Linked DNA regions of Homo sapiens: region 2 is linked to region 1. The links are contacts of gene promoters, found by promoter capture Hi-C in blood cells and fetal thymus (Javierre and others, 2016). All regions are on one chromosome and are shown on one strand. Each heading gives the region's core, a stretch centred on a gene start or on the middle of the fragment in contact. The rest is flanking DNA. Distances are from core to core; before and after follow the strand shown.

The links. The method cuts DNA at HindIII sites, captures the fragments that hold promoters and counts their contacts. A CHiCAGO score of 5 or more calls a contact.
Region 2: a contact is called between a fragment that was not itself captured here and the fragment with the promoter of PCCA-AS1 in region 1, in 2 of 17 cell types (M2 macrophages and M1 macrophages). The highest score is 5.5, in M2 macrophages.

What each region holds. Positions count from the first base shown.
Region 1 is chr13:100,478,150-100,483,799 of GRCh38, forward strand. It overlaps PCCA-AS1 (PCCA antisense RNA 1), which reads right to left and starts at 2,866. Exons shown (of 5, transcript NR_047686.1): 1 at 2,831-2,866. All of the region lies in intron 21 of PCCA (propionyl-CoA carboxylase subunit alpha), which reads left to right. It overlaps LOC107984574 (a long non-coding RNA gene), which reads right to left and starts at 3,058. Exons shown (of 3, transcript XR_007063850.1): 1 at 2,971-3,058; 2 at 2,112-2,281; 3 at 1,398-1,614. The HindIII fragment of the contact is 6,979 bases long and covers 1-5,169 here.
Region 2 is chr13:100,248,377-100,254,026 of GRCh38, forward strand. The region is part of intron 8 of PCCA (propionyl-CoA carboxylase subunit alpha); the gene reads left to right. Among named protein-coding and RNA genes, the nearest start is that of PCCA, 160 kb to the left of the region's middle. The HindIII fragment of the contact is 865 bases long and covers 2,492-3,356 here.

The DNA.
Region 1 (5,650 bases), core at 1,616-4,115:
CATATTTATTTTTCTGTGGATTTTTTTTCCCCTTGATCCAGGAAATTGTCTGTCTTCAACAACCTAGTCTTGTCTCCTCCAGAGAAAAGTTTTGAATCCTCTGAGGAGCGGTCTGTCGCCATTGTGGCCTGTGGTCAGTGGGTCAGACCAGAGCCCTGACAACTGTCTCCCTTCCTGGGCCCAAGTGGACACCAGAGGAGTTTGGGGCTCTGGGATCAGCCTGCTCTGGCGAGTGTCCTTTCCCTCCCACTCTGGAACTGTAGCTTCTCAGCCCTCTTCTTGATGCTGGGCGGGTGCCTGGGAGGCCCCACCCCTTCCCTGGGTACCTGGGGAGGTCCCCGACTGAGAGGTGGGAAGACCTGTGTCCCCTCCCCCAGCACACTCTCAGCCTCTGACTTAGTTCTCATAGGAGGAGGCAACAGCTTCCAGGAGCTGCTGCTGTTACCCTCGACGCCATGATGAGGAGGAAATTGCCTGGTCAGGAGGGCTCGCCTGCCTCTTCACAGCCAGGCGTACTGTAGCGGCCTCAGGAGCGGTCACCCTGGGAGTGACTCCTCACCTCCTAAGCAGCCCTGGGGCATGAACACTCGTCCTGGAAATCCTGCTAGGCTGGCTTAAGGGAGTTGCTTCTAGCATGCCTTTCTGGATAAGCCTAGTAGAATTGCTTTTTCTACTATAAAAAGGAAAGAATGGGGCTCCTCATATTATAGTAACAGAATTCTTGGTACTAGAACTGGTAAGCCAAGAGAAATGGAAGCTGACCAACTTTTCTCTCTGCACAGGGTTCAGAGGGATAGAAACACACAATTTGACTCTGCATGCACCAGAACCTTCTCACTCAGGGTAAGGGACAGCCACAGTTTCTGGGACGTTACCTAAAAACACAATAATCCCACTTATTCTCTGACAGATAATCATCAGTCATAGCCCCACTACTCACTTTTATTAAAGAAATAGCTGGGCCCTTTTAGGTAAAGCCCTTTATATACTGGGAAAAAAGGTCATGTTATCCATTCCTCAAATCCCAGGTAAACTCCTGCTGGTTACTCAAAAATAAAAACCAAAATGAAAGCCCATTCATCACAGGGATGCCTAATCTTGTAATGAGGGAATCACTGAGTGTGGCACAGGGAAGACTCCTGAGAGATTCTGATGGGGTACAAGTGTGCTGACCAACGTCCTAGATACAGTGGGCCCTTGAACAATATGGGGGCTAGGGATATCAACCCTGTGCAGTCAGAAATCTACGGATACCTTCTGACTCTCCCAGAATGTAACTGCTAGTAGCCTACTGCTGACCAGAAGTCCTACCAATAACATACAGTCATTTAGCACGTATTTGGTATGTTACATGATTATATACTGTATTCCTGCAATAAAGTAAGCTAGAGAAAGTGTTAGGAAAATCATAACGACAAAATATATTTATTATTCATTAAGTGGAAGTGGATCATCTTAAAGATCTTGATCTTCATTGTCTTCACGTTGAGTTGGCTGAGGAGGAGGGGGCTTGATCTTGCTGTCTCAAGAGCAGCGGAGTCATAAGAAAATGCACATTTAAGTGGCCCCATGCAGTTCAAATCCATGTTGCTCAAGGCTCAACTGTACACCGAACTGAAAAATGATTCCATTTTTAGTAGGAAATGGCCTACTCTAAGTCCTACTGCTTCCCTTTGCACTTGATGGCAAGGGTCTTTAACTGTGTCAGTGGAGCTGGTTTGGCTCCACTGATAGAGACTCCCTGACCATCTGATAGGCCACTTTTGTTAGAGGAGAAGGTACCCCCTTGCCTACCTGTTCTTTTCTTACTTCATGGGTCTTGATTCCTGACTCAGGAGCACCCATTACAGAAAAGCCCTGGGACTAGATCTAATTTTATTTAATGAAAAACCTATGGAGCATTTACTCTTGCTTCTAATAAATTAACAAGTCAGGGCTTTCTTCTGAATAGGAGGGTCTCTTGACTCTTTGATATTTGACTTTTGAACCAGACTAGATGAGGCAGAGCTTCAGCACATATTTTACCAGTGTCTTCAGCAAATGCCTTTCTCTTTGCAAAGCTCCATATTACTACCAAAAATTAACCCAACTAAATTGTAATTTCTACTCACCCACATTTATTGAGTACTGTGTTTCCTTGAAAGATCTCAAACAAGGCACCTTCTTGCAAGATCTTCACCACCAGACCTTCATGATAGTCACCTCCTCATTAGGCTGAGACGCATACACAGTGATTACGTTCAGACACAGGGACTCCTGTGTCTTAAGACCTTGTGTGACCCTTGTAATTAAAGCATTACACTTTGCAAAGGCTGACAGTGGTATAGGGGCTGTCTGAAACTATTCAGCCATAGCCTGGTCTCTGCTTTCTTTTTACAAATGGGAGGTTGGCTAAGGCAGACACAGGGATGGCTAAGAGGGATAAAGGACGTGACTTCCATAGAACCTTTTGTTCCTAGAGGAACCTCTCCATGAAACACACAGTGAAACTAGATTAAACCAAAAAACGCCCTCAGCTCCAGCAGATCCTGAGCTACAAAGCACCTCTTCCCTACCGAGCCTTCTCACCCATGCGCACTGAGTTTCTGAGTATCAGAAAGTCAGGTTTCTGAATCCCTAGAGAAAGTAAAAATTTCCTTGGACACAATGGGTTTTCTTTGCTTCCTGCATGACAGTCACGAAGGGGAATCTGAAATAGAGAACTTGAATATGCGGCTTGCTGAAGGGAAGTGTACTGTACAGTAGCCCCCCTTCTCCACGGGGGATCCATGTCAAAATCCCCAGGGGATGCCTAAGACTGCGGATGGGACCGAACCCTGTATACGCTTGCCTTTAATGCCTTTTCCATTTCAGCTCGGCACTTAGCCCACACTGTGGCTGTAACTTTTGTAGTTTTAGGTACAGCAGCAAAACTAGCACAAATTTCTTTGTCCTTTTTCACAATTTCATGGATAGAAGATTGATTCTTACTGTAGATCTTAGCAATCTCAGCATACTTTTTTTTTTCTTGAGAACTTTCACCTTTTAACTAAAGGAAGGACTTCATGGCTGGTTTTTGGCATATCCAGATTGCCAGCATCATACTCTTGGAACTTTGAGGCCATTGTGAAGTCAAATAATAGTTCCTGCCAGGCACAGTGGCTCACACCTGTAATCCCAGCATTTTGGGAGTCCAAGGCAGGTGGATCACTTGAGCTCGGGAGTTTGAGACTAGCCTGGGCAACATGGCAAAACTCTGCCTCTACAAAAAACACAAAAATTCACCGGTCACGGTGGCACATACCTGTAGTCCCAGCTACTCGGCAGGCTGAGGTGGGAGCATGGCTTAAGCCCAGGAGGTGGAGGTTACAGCGAGCCAAGATCATGCCACTGCACTCCAGCCTGGGCGACAGAGCCAGCCTCTGTCTCAAAAATAAAAAAGGAACCTAAGCACTGAGACCCCCTGACAGTAGATCTGGTAACTGAGATGGCCACTAAGTGACTGGTTGGTGGTGGGGGTGTCTACAGCGTGGAGATGCTGGACCCCGAGAGAGAGGGTTTATGACCCAGGCAGGATGGAGCAGGACAGCACAAGATCTCCTCACACTACTCAGAATGACTCACAATTTAAAACTTATACATTGTTTATTTCTGGAATTTTCCATATAATGTTTCTGGACCATGGTTGACCACAGGTAAATGAAACCTTGGAAAGCTAAAACCTTGGATAAGGGGGGACTACTGTAATATAAAGTTTACAGTTCCTGGGGTGAAAGCTCAGGCAGACCCTATCTATGCATTATTACAACGTACCATCAATTCAAAACCATAAATTTGCAGAAACATCGTTGCTTTAATTCCTAAAATATTGAATATGAATAATAAAAATAATATATGCTTTGTCTTAGAAGCACCTTTTTAATATGATTGATGTGTATTGATCTGTTTCTTCATTCTAACATGAACATTTCTGTAACAGTCATTTCCCCTGAAATATCTAACCTGTGGGTACCTGAGACAGCTTGTCAGTTAGGAAGAACAGTGGTGGCGATAGCCACGTAGGGCTGGTTTGGTCGTGAGTGCAAGTGTGGTTGCAGCAGCTAGAGCAGAGGACTGTGTGGAGAACATGGGTCAGGTCAGAAGGCAGTAGCCAGGAGGGATGCAGAGTCGAGAGAGAATTTGTTGATTGGAATGACTCAGGTTGACTTTCAGGATGAAGAGAAGGGGCCAATAGAGAGGGAAGAGAGGACAGTTGATGAGGCAGGCTCCAAGAGAGGAGGGCAAAGCGAGATCAGGGGCTCCAGTGAAATGCCTGAGTGTGATGAGAAGAGCGCTGTCTTGTGAGGCTAGAGAGGGAACCAAGGATGGGTGGGCCTGGGAAGGCTGGAGAGGTAGCCTGTCAGGGAGCTGCTAACCCACTTAGAAATACTCTTATTGACATAACAAGGTTTTTTGTTTTGGTTTTTTGTTTGTTTGTTTTGAGAGAGCGTTCGCTCGTTCCCCAAGCTGAAATGCAATGGTGCAGTCTCAGCTCACTGAAACCTCCACCTCCTGGGTTCAAGCGATTCTCCTGCCTCAGCCTCCCGAGTTGCTGGGATTACAGGTGCATGCCACGGGTGCAGTGGCTCACGCCTGTAATCCCAGCACTTTGGGAGGTCGGGGCGGGCGGATCATTTGAGGTCAGGAGTTCAAGACCAGCCTGGCTAACATGGATATAACAAAATTTTCTATTTCAAAAGTTCAGTCGTGGGCACAAGTTGATTTTGCCTTACAGTCTTGATAGTGAAGGTGCATACTATTTTTAAAGCTGTATTCCTTAGATACTACCATATTATCTAATGTTTCTAATAATGGAATTAGCAAAAAATGACTACATCATCCAAATTTGACTTTGTACTAACATACTTGGCGTACTCCATATCCCTGAAGGTTAACAAGAGATAAATTTGGCCTAGACTGGTCTTTTCCTGAATTCATCACTTAAAAAAGGAAAAAAAGAATGGGGAGGAAAAGCCACGTTTTACTTTTATAATTTTTATTCCATCATTAAAAGTACAACTTGCTTTATGATCTGAAGAAATACCATCTAAGTCTTTCTATTAGGAACAAAAGTGAGCCTTTCAGGGAAAAAAAAAAAAGGAGCTGGGCTTAATCTGCATTAGCCCTTTGATGTATTCCCAGATTTTAAAAAGCTTCCCACTGTTCTCAGCCACGTTGAAACAGACCCAGCCATGTGTCCGGCGCTGTCCTTTTCTCCTCTCAGCACACACTTAGCCGGAGACACCTTTTGGCCAATGGGCCAGGATTCTTCCATTGCATCTTCAGCATGTGACCGTTTGTGCTGGCTCATTGGGAGTTCTGCTGCTCAGTACTCCTTCCCCAGGCAAAGACTCTTAAGTTAATAATTGGTTCAGAAGAATAAACTATACCGCCCTCTTGGTCTTCTTTTGGACATTTCTTTAAGATGAGGCTCTTACTGGTATATCTGGGGTACTTTATTGAGAAATAGAAAGTGCTAGCTGAAATAAGGCGTATCAGTCTAGAGTTAGGAAGTGAGAAATGCAATCGGTAAATTTTGCTTTTAAATAAAAATGGAAGCCCCATTTTAATTGTTGCCATTTCTAGTCATTTTATCATTTTTAACAGCCTGGTTTTCTATTTTAGAGAAGTT
Region 2 (5,650 bases), core at 1,674-4,173, 230 kb before region 1:
TCTATTTCTATTGTTTCAGTGCTTGCTATAGAAATTTCAACTTGGAGACATTCCTTCAGGTGTCCTTCATCTTTGGCAACATTTAGTGTTGTCAGTGTTTTGGATTTTAGCCATTCTAATAGGCACATAGTAGTATCTCATAGTTTCAGTTTGCAGTTCCCTCATGACATATAATATTGAGCATCTTTTCATGCTATTATTTGCTATCTGTGTTTCTTTTTTATTGAGATGTCTCTTCAAATCTTTTGTTAATTTTTCAATTGGGTGGTTTGTTTCCTGGTTGAGTTTTAAGAGCTCTGTGTATTTTGGATACAAGTTCTTTCTTAGGTATGGGTTTTGTAAATATTTTCTCCCAGTCTAGAACTTATGTCTTTATTCTTTTTTTTTGAGATGGAGTCTCACTCTTGTTGCCCAGGCTGGAGTGCAGTGGCGCGAGCTTGGCTCACTGCAACCTCCGCCTCCCGGGTTCAAGTGATCCTCCTGCCTCAGCCTCCTGAGTAGCTGGGATTATGGGCACCCGCCACCACGCCTGGCTAATTTTTTTTTTTTGTACTTGTAGTAGAGATGGGGTTTTGCCATGTTGGCCAGGCTGGTCTCGAACCCCTGACCTCAGGTGATCTGCCCACCTCGGCCTCCCAAAGTGCTGGGATTACAGGCATCAGCCACCATGCCCGGCTGTGTCTTTATTCTTTTAAGAATGTTATTTGGGCTGCAGAAATTTTTATTTTAATGAAGTTAAATGTGCCAATTTTTAATGGTTTGTGCTTTTGGTGTTATATGTAAAAACTCATTGCTAAACCAAAGTCACCTAGATGTTCTTCTATTTTTTCTCTAGAAATTTTATAGTTCTGCAATGTATATTTAGGTCTGAGATCCATTTTGAGTTAATTTTTGTGAAAGGTATAAGGATTGTGGCAAGATTAATTTTCTTGCATAATGAATATCCAGTTATTCCAGTACCCTTTGTTTGGAAAGACTATCTGCATTTAATTGCCATTGCTTCTTTGTCATAGTTCAGTTGACTGTATTTGTGTGGGTCTACTTCTGGGCTCTTGAGTAATTTGTCTGTCTTAGACAATACCATACTGTCTTGATGTCTGTAGCTTTATAGTAAGTCTTGAAGTTGGGTATTGTTAGTCTTTTGAATTTGTTCTTTTTCTTCAATATTGTGATGCCTATTCTGGGTCTTTTCCTTTCCATATAAACTTTAGAATCAGTTTGTGGATATCTACAAAATAAATTGCTAGGACTTTGATTTTAATTGTGTTCAACCTATAGATCACGTTGAGGAGGATTGATATCTTAACAATATTGAATCTTCCTATCCATGTACATTGATTATCTCTACATTTAGATTTTCATCCATTTCTTTCGTCAGAGTTTTGTAGTTTTCCTCATAGATACACTGTATGTATTTTAAGATTCATGCCTATTTTATTTCTTTAGTGCTAATGTAAATGTCACTATTTTAATTTCAAATTCCAGTTGTTCACTGCTGGTATATAGGAATGTGATAATCTTTTGTATATTAATTTGTATTCTGTAACCTTACTATAATTGCTTATCAGTTCCAAGAATTTTGTTGTTATTGCTGATTTTTTTGGAATTCCTTCATAGACAGTCATCTTATCCACTAGTGAAGACAGTTCTATTTATTCCTTTCCAGTCTGTTTACTCTTTATTTCCTTTTCTTAACATACTTCATAAGCTGGAATCTGCAGTCAGATGTTGAATAAGAGTTGTAAGAGGGGACATTCTTGTATTTTTCCTGATTTTTGGGAGAAGGCATCCAGTTTCTTGTCATTAAGTGTAATGTTAACTGTAGGCTTTTTGTGTATATTCTTTATCAAGTACAAGAAATTTCTCTTTATTCCTAGTTTGCTAAACTCAGTGATTGTTGATTTTTGTTAAATGCTTTTTCTGCATCTATTTATATGATCATAGGATTTTTCTTCTTTAGCCTGTTAATGTGATGGATTACATTAATTGATTTTTGGATGTTGAATCAGCTTTGCATACCAGGATTAAATCCCATTTGGTCATGGTATATAATTCTTTTTATATATTATTGGATTTTTTAGTCATTTTAATATCTAAAAACTTAATTTTAAAATGTTTGCTTTTTTCTTATTTATCTCATCATGTTTATTTTTTTCTCCAAATCATTTTACCTGTTTGTAATAGCTGTAACTTATAATAGTATTTGTAACAACTGTTTTAAGAGTCTTCATTTCTGGGTTTCTTTCTGTCAGCTATTTTCCTTCTGATATGAATCACATTTTGCATCTTTACCTATCTCTTAATTGTTGATTGGATTCTAGACATTGTAAATGTTACATTGTGTGTTTGGATTTTGTTACCTTTATTTAAAAGGTATAGATGTTTAGTCTGGCAGGTACATTAATTTTGTTTAGGTTAAGGCCTTTTAGGCTTTAAAAAAGTTTTCTTAGGGCAAGTCTAGCATAGTCCTTTCTCGTGTTCTGATTAAACAAGCTTGTATTATGCTGTCTCTCTACCCGTCACACTTCCTGTCCTTTGGTTCATAATTTCTATTTCATTATACGTCTATGGTTTTTTCGTAGTATAATGTAAACCCATGAAAGATGTAGGCAGGAGAGAGATATAATAGTATATATACCTTAAGAAAATTTCACTGACCACTATGTGGCTTGGATGGGGGCAACTGTAGTAGTGGGGAGTTCTGCTAGTAGGCCAGTACAAGAGTCCTGGACTGCTGGTAGTTTGTGTAAGTATTATGATTAAGTATTATGATAACTGAGATAAAGAAAAGTGAATAGATTTGATCTTTTTAAATAAAGAATTTATAAGAGTTTCATACTATCCAGCAGTTGTGCTCTTACACATAGATCCAGGAAGCTCATATACAAAGTTCCAGACAACAAGTACAAAAATATTCAAAGGACCATTGTTATATAAATAGAACAGGTTACAGTCTGAATGTTCATTCACAGTGGAATGGATAATGCTGCAGTATGTTTGTAGGTGACATAGATTACAGCAGTAAAAATAATGACTTACAGCTGCTCAGATTAACTAATAGATTTACTTAGTAACTCTTACTTTGCATGTTATTCTTTAGGCAGTTTCAGCCACTGCAGAAACAACAAAGAAGACAGGCAAAGATCTTTGTCTTTATGTTTTTTTAATCATTGTGCAGTGAACAATGTAGATATTGACTAAAGCAAGAATCATTAAAGTTCATTTTTAATAATGGGTGAAAATTGTTTGGATATAGGATCATCACAGTTTCAAAGTATCAATCTACAGATTATTTGCTAAGAAAAAATGGCATACTTTCTGTGAGGAAATTTAATGGATGCCATCTTAAGTAATCAAGCTTTATCAGTTTGGGATAAATTGACTTTTTATTTTACTTTTGATGCGATGGAAGAACTCGAGGATACAATATCAACTATGTTGTATTTAAGATTTGTTAAACATCTTGAATTTAATGAGTGAATAATCAGGTATATTCAAATTGTGGAATATTCTATCAAACAACCACCCTGGGTTCTTCAGAAATATCATGGTCATGAAGAACTCCCCCCGCCATCAGCACAAAACAACAAACACAAACCCACACTTTCCCTTCTGGGGAGGCTGAGGGGGTTCAAAAGGCAAGTGAACTACTTTACATTAGAGGAGCACAAAGAAACGAAACAAAGCAATGCGTACTATCTATGTAATTCTCATGAGCAACTTTCATCTGGGGATTTCCTTCCTTTCTGTCCTAGTTCTTTCTCGGAGTGGGGTGTCTTTTCTCTTCTGAGGTCCTATTACCCATATCAGGGCCTATTCTATCCATCTAGAGGACTGTTCAACTTCCTGAAATATCTTTTGTTTTCTTTTTACCTTGGACCTTTCCTTGAGGAAACAAAGGCCTTGTAGTTAATTATAGGTGTTTTGCAATTGGTTATTTAAAGAAGATCCCCATTCCCCATCACATCTCCTTGATTCATGAGAGATTTCTGATTAGTACCGCTGGATTAGGAATAAGACATTTTCTAAGAAATACTTTTCTTTTCCCTTCTTTTTATTTTTCCTTTCCCATTAGTATATTCTATGAAATTTTAATTCAAGAAATTGTAGGTGAGAAAACCACATAAGATTCTTTATTATACAGCGTACCACTGTTGCATCAATAGGGTGTCATTTTATCAGCTTTTAAGTTACCAGGTTGTGCTACCATGTGTGGCTTGGGTTTTGCTTGAAAAGTAAGGTTATTTATTGTGTCTTGAGTAGGTAAATGTGACATTATCAGTTGGTCAAAAAAGATAATTCTTTTTAACTTGGAATCCATAACTAAATGGAAAATCTCCTAAGCTCCTAGAATCTTCCTTCATTCATCCCCTTATCTTCCACATCCAAACTGTCGCTAACTCTAGTCTTTGTCTTTCTCTCTATCTCTGTTGCTAGCTGGACTGCTGCAAAGGCTTCCTCATCAGCTCCTTGTTTCTACCTTTGCCCTTTCACCATTCATTCATTGCACAGCAGCCAAAGTGATCTTTTAAAATGCTGTATTAGGTACTTCCCTTTCCTGTATCACACCTTCCAACTTGTTCCTTCTGTCTGGACTCATCCCCCCTCACTGATTTTCAGAGTGCTCGCTCTATCTTGTCATTAGGTTCTCAGTTTAAATACTAGTTTTCTCAGAGAAGCATTTTCAAGGAGCAGTAACCCTGTCACTCTCAGTTACATTTATTCCCTCCGTGTTATAGCAGTCATCACTATCTTACATTGTGTATAAGACATACATGCACTTATTTATTTATATTAATATGTGTATATACATAAAGAAATACTGCAGCCTTGACCTCCTGGGCCCAAGCTGTCCCCCCAGCTCAGCCTCCCAAGTAGCCGGGATTAGAGGTGTGAGCCACTCCACCCGACTCAGACATATATTTAGATGCATGTATGTTTGTATATCATTGTCTGCTAGATAGCAGGGAGTTTTCTGAATCGTTGGCCTTTGTAGCCTGCAGAGAGCCAGATAAGGCTTATAGTGTATATTCAGTAAACATTTTTTAAACTGATGAATACAAATTTGATAGTAGAGTTAGAAAGAAGGCTGCTTGCTTTGTGGTAGAAAGTAAGACGCACTGGTAGCTGGGAGGTGAGGGACCCAGAGAAGATGTCCTGTCCTGCACTTAAACCTGCCCTTGAAAACTGAGTCCAGAAAAGTAGCAATGGAAACTTTGTAGTACTTTGCTAACCTAAGTTTCTGTATTTTCTTCGTATATTTTGTCATATAGTATTAGTAGATTTCTTTTCGGAAGCATTAGTGCCTCTTTTATTGTGCAGAAGAGAATAAGGAGTGGAGACTGTCTCTGTGTTGGAGGTTCAGTGTCAGTAGGGGAGTCACTTCTGTGTCTGGGGTGAGGTAAGGTAGTAGCAGTAAGCATCCCATGAGAGGACCTGGAAGGTGAGGAAAAACTTGGGAAGGGCACTAGAGCCTGATTTTTTTTTTTTTTTTTTTAAAGCAGTCTCTTCTACTAGGACTTTCACCTCCTTTTACGAGTAGAATTTGTATTTTGTTATGCTCTGTGTATTAGTCCATTCTCACACTGCTAATAAATACATACCTGAGACTGGGTAGTGTATAAAGAAAAAGAGGTTTAATGGGCTCACA